Regions from separate parts of the Homo sapiens genome. Here region 2 is linked to region 1. The links are contacts of gene promoters, found by promoter capture Hi-C in human tissues and cell types (Jung and others, 2019). All regions are on one chromosome and are shown on one strand. Each heading gives the region's core, a stretch centred on a gene start or on the middle of the fragment in contact. The rest is flanking DNA. Distances are from core to core; before and after follow the strand shown. Region 1 holds the start of CRTAC1 (cartilage acidic protein 1). Region 2 overlaps CRTAC1 (cartilage acidic protein 1).

What was found. Contacts are between HindIII fragments. The study calls those that stand out against the background at their distance.
Region 2: a fragment that was not itself captured here is called in contact with the fragment with the promoter of CRTAC1 in region 1 in 5 of the 25 tissues and cell types used here (hippocampus, liver, neural progenitor cells and 2 more).

Annotation. Positions count from the first base shown.
Region 1 is chr10:98,028,541-98,032,454 of GRCh38, reverse strand. It overlaps CRTAC1 (cartilage acidic protein 1), which reads left to right and starts at 1,834. Exons shown (of 15, transcript NM_018058.7): 1 at 1,834-2,006. The coding sequence starts at 1,983. The HindIII fragment of the contact is 23,473 bases long and covers 1-3,914 here.
Region 2 is chr10:97,983,622-97,987,535 of GRCh38, reverse strand. The region is part of intron 2 of CRTAC1 (cartilage acidic protein 1); the gene reads left to right. Among named protein-coding and RNA genes, the nearest start is that of CRTAC1, 45 kb to the left of the region's middle. The HindIII fragment of the contact is 8,913 bases long and covers 1-3,914 here.

The DNA.
Region 1 (3,914 bases), core at 585-3,084:
GTGAGCATTTTTATAAGCAACAGATCCATAACATTTATGAGATTCTTGAAAGGTTCTAAAGGGTCTGTGATCCCCAAAAGGAGGGTGATTATAAACTACTGTCCTAGACCCCTGAAGAAACAGGTTGACATTGGACCGAGCCCCAAGAGACTCAGGGTTCCTAATGATCCTGAAAGTATACTCAAGGTGTGTGTGTGTGTGTGTGTGTGTGTGTGTGTGTGTGTGTGTGTAAATGTGTGTGTTTGTATATTTTTCTAGAAAAATGATTCAGTAATTTTTGCCAGATTTTCAAAGGGGCCCACAACCTTACAGGCTTGATGGGGGCTCAAAAAGCCAGAAAGTTTGTCTGTGCCTAGCTATTTCTTTTCAGAGGAAGATCACAGAGACCTGAAAACAGAGCCCAGACTAGGTCCTGGTAGTTCTGCTCAAAATCTGTGGATAACAGGGGCCAGAGGCTGGATGTGTGGCCCTCTATAAAAGAACACATTCAAATCATTCTAAGAGTCAAGGGCCCAGAAGCCAGACTAGTGGGTGATGGTCACAAAAGCGTCAACGGATGGGAAAACAGTCCTAGCTCCTTCCCTCTCCGATGGTGGATTCCCAAGTCTTTCTCTTCTGTGGCCCCTTTACCTGGCTTTCAGAAACCCAAAGACCTCACTCATGGAAGCTCAGAATTCATTCAATAAACACTGAGCGCCTACTATGTGCCAGGCTCTATTCTAGGCGTAAAATAAAGGATTTGCCTTCAGAGTGTGACCCACCAAGGCCAGTTTCCTGCCTGAACAGGGGTATTTTGAGCATTGCTGATCAAGTGTGTTTTTCTGGCGCTTAGCACCCCCATTCCCCTGGTCCAGAGAGGCAGAAACCATCCCCCCACCACCACCAAGGCAGCGGGTTGGGGGCGAGGAGAGGCGGGCAGTACCTGTGATCAAAGCGGTGAGGGAGGCTAGTAGGACGCAGGCGGCAGGAGCGGGTGGGCCAGGCCCGACTCGGCCACTGCTGGGGTAGGGACTAGGTGGGATGGGGTGGGGGCACTGCTGGTGGGGACGGGGTGGGGTAGAAGCGGCGCTGCCCGCAGCCGCCTGGGCCTCTGCGCGCCTGATCTCCGAGCTGCGCTCGCCCGCTCCCCGCCTGCGGGGGCCGTCGCGGAGCCCTGCTCTCCATACTGAGCAGTCCCCGGGAGGTGCTCGGACACGTCCCCAGGCTGGATAAAGATCGGCTCGGCTCTAGCTCCGTAGTCGAAATCTCGCCATCAGCGCGGCTCGCTCGGCCGCTTTGGCCCGGCCCGGCGACGCCAGATCGCTATCCTGGGGGGAAATGGGAAGGCAGTGCAGCCGCTCCCGCCTCCACCCTCGGTCCTGCGCGCAGGGGTGGCCGCGGGGTCCTGGGGCTCGCCGCCCTCCCCTCCCCCTTCGCGTTCCTTCCCTGCGCTGCCTCCCGAGGGACCCTCGCTTCCCTCCGGCCTGGGGCCCCCAGCGCCCAGCCAGGCGCCCTCTCCCCTCCTCGCCAGGCCTCGCTGCCGCCTGAAGGTTACGCGACGCAGTGGCGGGGCGCGGGGGGCGCCCGCCCTCGCCGCCGCCTTCGCCGCCGCCCACCCCAGTGGCCGCCGCGCCGCGCCGGGCCAGCCTGGCTGCCGGCTGCTGCCACCGCAATCCCGGCTCCTAAATCAGCGCGGGGAGGCGCTCCCTCCCCACGCCCGGCTCTCCGGGCTCTCGGGGCCGCGATTGGCCGCGCCGGCGCCCCCCACCCCGGGCCCCCGGCTCCAGCTGCCGCGCCATTGGCTGCGGGCCTCCGCCAGCCTTTACATAAGACCGGGCGCGCTCGAGTGGAGTTGTATAAAGCGAGCGCGCGGCGTCGGGGCGGGAGGCTCGAGGCCAGCCCGGGACCGGGGCTGGGAGCAAGCAGGCGGCGGCGCCGGCGGCAGAGGCGGCAGCGAGCGCCCGCTTCCCACGCCCCTAGGCGGCGGGGCCGAGAGCGGGAGGATGGCTCCGAGCGCTGACCCCGGCGTGAGTATCTGCACCGGTGCCCCCCACCCTAAGGCGGAGAAAGTTTCTCCAGCTCTGCGCGCCCCCCCGGATCCGCCCGCAAGGGTGGCGGGGACGCCGCCCGGGAACCCGGGAAGACTGGGATCGCGAAGGCGGCGGCTTCGCTCCTAACTTGCTGGGAGGCGCTGGACTCGATTGGCGCGCGGAGCCTCCCCCGCGGGCTGGGGGTGAGGCGGCGGCCGGGTTGGAGGTGGCGGAGAGGTGGGAGCTGATGTGTGGGGGCGACAGCCAGCAGCTGGCAGAGAAAGTGTTGGGGGCGCACTGGAGGTCAGCTGTCAGGGGAGGGGGCCTCTGGGGCCTGGAGGGGGCGGAGCGGGTGAGGAGGGATGTGCCGGGCTATCGGGAGAGTCTCCCAGTCAGCCAGGCTGAGACCCGGGCCTGGGAAGCCACTGGCCTCGGCCGAGTGCCTACGCTTCCAGGCTGGGGAAGAGCCCCGCGGGCTGGCTCTTCCTCCCCTGGGAAGCCGAGTTCCCGGGCACAGCGCTGGGTGGCAGAGAGCTCCGGGAGCCAGCCCCGCGCGCGGCGTAGCTGCTAGCCGCCTTATGCTGGACGAGGTGTGGTCTTCCCTTCAGGCTGCCTGAGGCAAGCCGGCTTCAGGCATTCCAGGGGAACCCTGAGTCCTCCTCGACCCCGTGGGGGCACTTGGAGGCTTTGATGGGGCAGCCAGGCCGGGCTTGGGGGCATGCCCAGCAATGCAGCGCGCTTCTTTGCAGTACAGTAGTTGGGAGCCCTGGTTAGTCCCGCTTCTGCAGAAAGCAACTCAAGAATCCAAAGTCATCCCAGCCTGGATGGAAGCCTCCCAGAGTGGCGGGGAAATTCTCCTAGGGTTGAGAGCTGGGGGGGCTTCCTCCAGGAATGACTAATGAATATTGCTGCTGCTGCCGCCGCCGCCGCCGCCGCCGCCGCCGCCGCCGCCGCTGCTGCTGCTGGTGGGTGCACCCAGTGTGGCTTCTGCACATCCCAGGAGATGCTTCCGTTCTCCTGACAGGACACATTCTTGAGTTGCACTTGAGGTGTCTTCTGGGATGGGTGCAGGACTTTCCACGTGAAGCCAAGTGGAAAAGAAGGGAAGAGGGTCCCAGGACAGGGGACAGTTCTATAGTGTTTTCTTGAGTCAGGGGAGAACTCATGTGGGAAGAGATAAGCGATTGACGGAGATTTGGAACCCAGACGACTTGGGGCTGGAGATGTCCAAGACTGAATTAGAGCTCATTGAGAGTCACAGAGTACCTCACCCTCAGCCATGGGGGAGAGGTGGAGGCTGGAAAAGTGGGAACATGGTGGCTGTTCCAGCATGGTTCTTGAGAAAATGTTCTCTCTCTCTCTCTGACTTGGTTAAGAACATCCTTCTGGCAGTAGGTCCTAAAGTCAATTTAAGAGGTAATGAAGGGAGTTGAGGGTCTTGATGATGGCACAGAGGACCACAATTAGAACATTTCCATTTCCGGTGGGTACTAATGGACTCTGGAAAAGGTCGAAACGGTGTGTAGGGAGTCTGGGGAACCTGCTCTGTGGCTGCTCATTTGAGCCTGAATCCTCCACCTTATCCCATCCCTGAATGTAGGTGGATGTTCAAACTCCTAGGGTACCTGCTTCAGCCTGGAGATATTTTATGGGTGCTATCAATCTATATCCCAACCCCCAGCTCCATCGTTGTCTGCTGCAGTCAACATTTTTCTGCTGCATTTCCCAAGACCTTCTCTCCACTGGGGATTTGTGCAGCGAAATACCTGCTTGTTGCTCTTTCTTCCCTTCTCCATCTGGGCTGCACCTGGTGTTCTGAACCCTGGTGTTTATTCCTTGGTACCTTGATGTTTGGTTAAGACGTCCTATGGCTGCGCAGGGGTGCCCCTGTAAATCTGTGGACCA
Region 2 (3,914 bases), core at 747-3,246, 45 kb after region 1:
CCTTCCTTGGTTGCCCTGGAATCCCCTGGTTAAATCATCCACTTCAGCACCCATTTATCTTTCCTTCTAACCCTCAATTTTAGTCCTTTTGAAACCTATTGAGATCCAGTGATGCAAAGAAGACACCAGCTAGATTTCCAAGAAAATCTCATGCTCAGAATTATGAATTAAAGGAAGGGAGGCCTAGAGAAATATTCCACATGAACCCCAGTCGGGAAAAGAACAAAGGAATACAGATGAGTAAAGTCAGTGTCTCAGAGTGTGTCATCCATGAGAGCCATGGCTTATAAAGGAGCCAACCAGGGCATGTCTCTGGGGACCAAGGGGCTACTGGCTCCAACCTTACTCTCTCAAATGCGAGATTCATAAGGCTGTATATACAACCATTGTATTTGTGTGTGCATGTGTTTCAGATATTTTTTCTTGTGATATCTTTAAATGATATGAATGATTTTGGCAACTCTGTTTTGGCATTTCTTCATTTCTTAATATACTGAGAGTCTCAGAATCTGGAAGTGACCCAGCCCTCTCTCAAACCTCAGGACACTCTGGCATTAGTATTTAATGAGCACCTGCAATGTACCAAACTCTGTGCTTTGCCCTTTACACATAATCTTATTTACGAAGGAGATGCTACTGTTTCTGATTTATAAAAGAGAAAAGTGAGAACAGGAGGGCAGATCTCTCGCTGAAGGTCACCCAGTTAGTAAGGGTCAGAGCCGGGAGGTGGTTGTGGCCTGTTTGGCACCAAGGCCCAGACTTTTCCTTCCTGCCCCTGGTTCCCAAAGCAGGGCAGGGCCAGTCTGAATGAAATTGTTGTCATCTTGTAGCAAAATTAACTAAATAAGAATGATGTACTAATAATATTTTCATAACGCTAAAATTATTTAAAGGACTGATTTTTCAATTCTAAGATTTTGTAATTCTTGTTTTTCTGGTGTTGAAAAGTATTTTTATGGTTATATCATAGATGATGGGGGTTTTGCTTTGTTTTTTGTATTGTCCTCAGTTGGCAAAATAAAACACTCGCAATCCTGCATGAGTGCTCTCAAGGTTGTTTTTGAAAGTTCACTGTGCCATGACATCTTAACGTTGGAAAGTACTGCTCTAGATAACATTGACATCTCACGAAGGAAGGGCTGCCCTTCATTGAGTGCCCATGGGCCCCAGGCTGGATGATTCGCATGTGTTGTCTCTGATAGATCAAACCACTAAAGGAAGGTCTCCCCTGGTTTCACAGGCTAGGGAATTGAGGCTTAGAGGACCCCCTGAGAGTGCTTGCAAAGGTCTTGGCTTCAAATGCTAGAGCTCTCCTCTCCCCGGTGTGGTGGCAGTCTGTTTGGGAGCCCAGTCCCTGCCCTTGGTGCATTTCATCCCCAAGCGGCCTCCCTCCCAGTCCTGGGCCATCTGAGACACAGCCTCATCTTCCCTTTACCCTTCCTCCTTCCCAGAGCCCAGCCCTTTTCCCACACATTGCAGCTTTGATCGCTCTCAGAACCTACATAAACAGCATTTTAGAGGCTGTTGCAGCTATTGTGGTCCGCATTGGTGCTCTGGCTTGGAATAACTTCTCAAAGATCCTCAATAGGGAGGTTGTGGCCTTCTGTCCCTTGCTGGCCAGGGACACTGAGGTCAAATGGGATCCCCAGAGCTCTTGGCAGTTCACAAAGTGAGTTCTTATTTCAGTGCAGGACAGGCTGGGATGGGTGGGCCAGCTACTGTCTCAGGACCTGGCTTACATGTTAATAATGGTCCAGATGCATGCACGTGGTTTTCCCTCTGTGTGCAGGGGTTGAAGGGTGATTCTTCTCTGCATAGGCTGTGGCTGGTTTTCTTGGGAGCAAGCACAATTGGACTACACAGGAGGCCTCGGCACTTTGCAGAGGCAAGTGCACCTCTGGGATGACCAAAGGCTGTTCTCATGCATGCCCCGGCTCATCCACAGTGACAGATGCACAGTTGGCCTCCATGTGACTGCCAGAGGTGGCTGTAGCAGGCATACCGCAAGCAGGAAGAGCACCTGCTCTCTTCATTAGGACAAGGAGAAGAACGAAGCTGGCTGCTGGCTTCATGAGTGCTCTGAGGGAAAGGAGCAGGGTCTAGTTCCATCTGGAGAAGATGGAGCAGCCCATAGACTGGTGTATTTTTTAGGAGCTATGAGATAAAGAAGAAAGATTCCATCAGCTCATGGAACTGGTGATGGCTAATGAGGCCAATGTAATTTACAACGTGAGAAAAATGTTGACAAATAGAGCAAAAATTCTTATACATAATATTATAGAGTAGTAGGAAGAAGAATAACAGGGCTTAGCTATGGTTCAAATTTGTCATTTTTTGGTGCCTAGCATCTATTCTCTCTTCCTTTCTTTACTAGTAGGTAATTGCTTCTCCCCTTTTGTGGGCAGTTTCAGAAAAATGGTAATCAAGGAATACTGCCCTTTACTCTACACAAGCCGAAACAATCCCTGGAAGTTCTGGCCAAGGGGTGGAGCCACGAGTTGGGCACAAGTCTGACATGCACCCAATTACAGTCTCCTCTGAGTCTTTCATTTTTGGGCAGAGCAATGCAAGGATTGAAGAATTGTTTGAAATTTAGTTATTTTCACTGCAGCACCAGAGCTAGGCTGTCAGAAGGTTCTGGCTCCTTCTTGAGCTGCCTTTTCCTAACCTGGTCCTTCGGCCTTCCCTTTGAACTAGTGAGCTCCCCCATAGCCCTGCCAGTCAATTTCCTTTTCACGTAAGTCAGACAGACTCAGCTTCTGTTGCTTACAATCAAAGAATCCCACTGAGCATCACGTGCCCAAACAAGTTGTCTTTACAGAGGGGTCTGGAAGGTCATGTACCTGGTTCAGTGGTGCTGCCAACCCTCAAAGAGTGCAGGAGTTTTGCATTTGAGATGACCTTGGGAGCCTTGTTTCCACGTCATGCAAGAACACCAGACCCTGTAACCATGCTTCAATTTGGACCCAAAACAACATTACCAGCTCAATCAGCTGGTTATTCACCGAGCTTGGCTACAAATGCCAAAAAGCTTCTTGACTGTTTCCAAAAATAAAATTCAGCTCTGCAGGATGGGGCTCTGCCACCATTGTGCTTATTCCAAATAATGTGGCATGGATTTGCAGAAAATTCTCAAGAGAGGCCCCAAAGTGTCTGGAACAATGGCAGCAACCTTGGGATAAATATCTGGCATCTCTGATGACTGCTCAGATGGGGGAGGGACACTCATTTGGATGGATGGATTCCAATATATTTATTAAATAGCCCATCTCATTATCTAGAAGTCACACTCCATGCTGGAGACACGTTTCCAAGCCTGAGAGCTAGAGTGTTTTAAGAGCCTTTGGAAAATTCTCTACATGCAGTCTGAGACCCTGCCCCACCCCTCAGACATAGCCATGTAGGGATTTTCGCCTTCACATGGGAAGCAGATGAGGTTTAACAAGCAGTGGCTGTTGTCTCTTCCTCTTAAGCAAGATGTGTGTCCTTTGCCCAAGGATGGGCTGAAATCTAAAATAAGAGAACATGTAACATCCATTGGCAAACCTCTGGTTAAAGCCCCTTGCATAGGCATCATGTTTCCTTGCTTCTTAACTTTCTTTTAGATTAGAAAAATATTTGCCATTAGGTTTCCCAAAATAAAAAAATGTGTGTATGCTGTGTGTTATATGCATACGTATTTTTGGATGACACTGCAGGCCCCAGATGGAAACAAGAGAGTGGGTGGAACACACCCTACTTCACCCGCATCTTGATATGGTCACCCGGCCACACCCACACACATAGGCCAGAGGAATAGATGAATCTTCTGTCTTCTACCACTATGCCATTGCCAGGCCTAGGGTCCTGGATCATTTCAACAGTAGAAGAATTCTACTTTCAGACACAAGGAAGAAGAAATGTGGTAGTTCTTG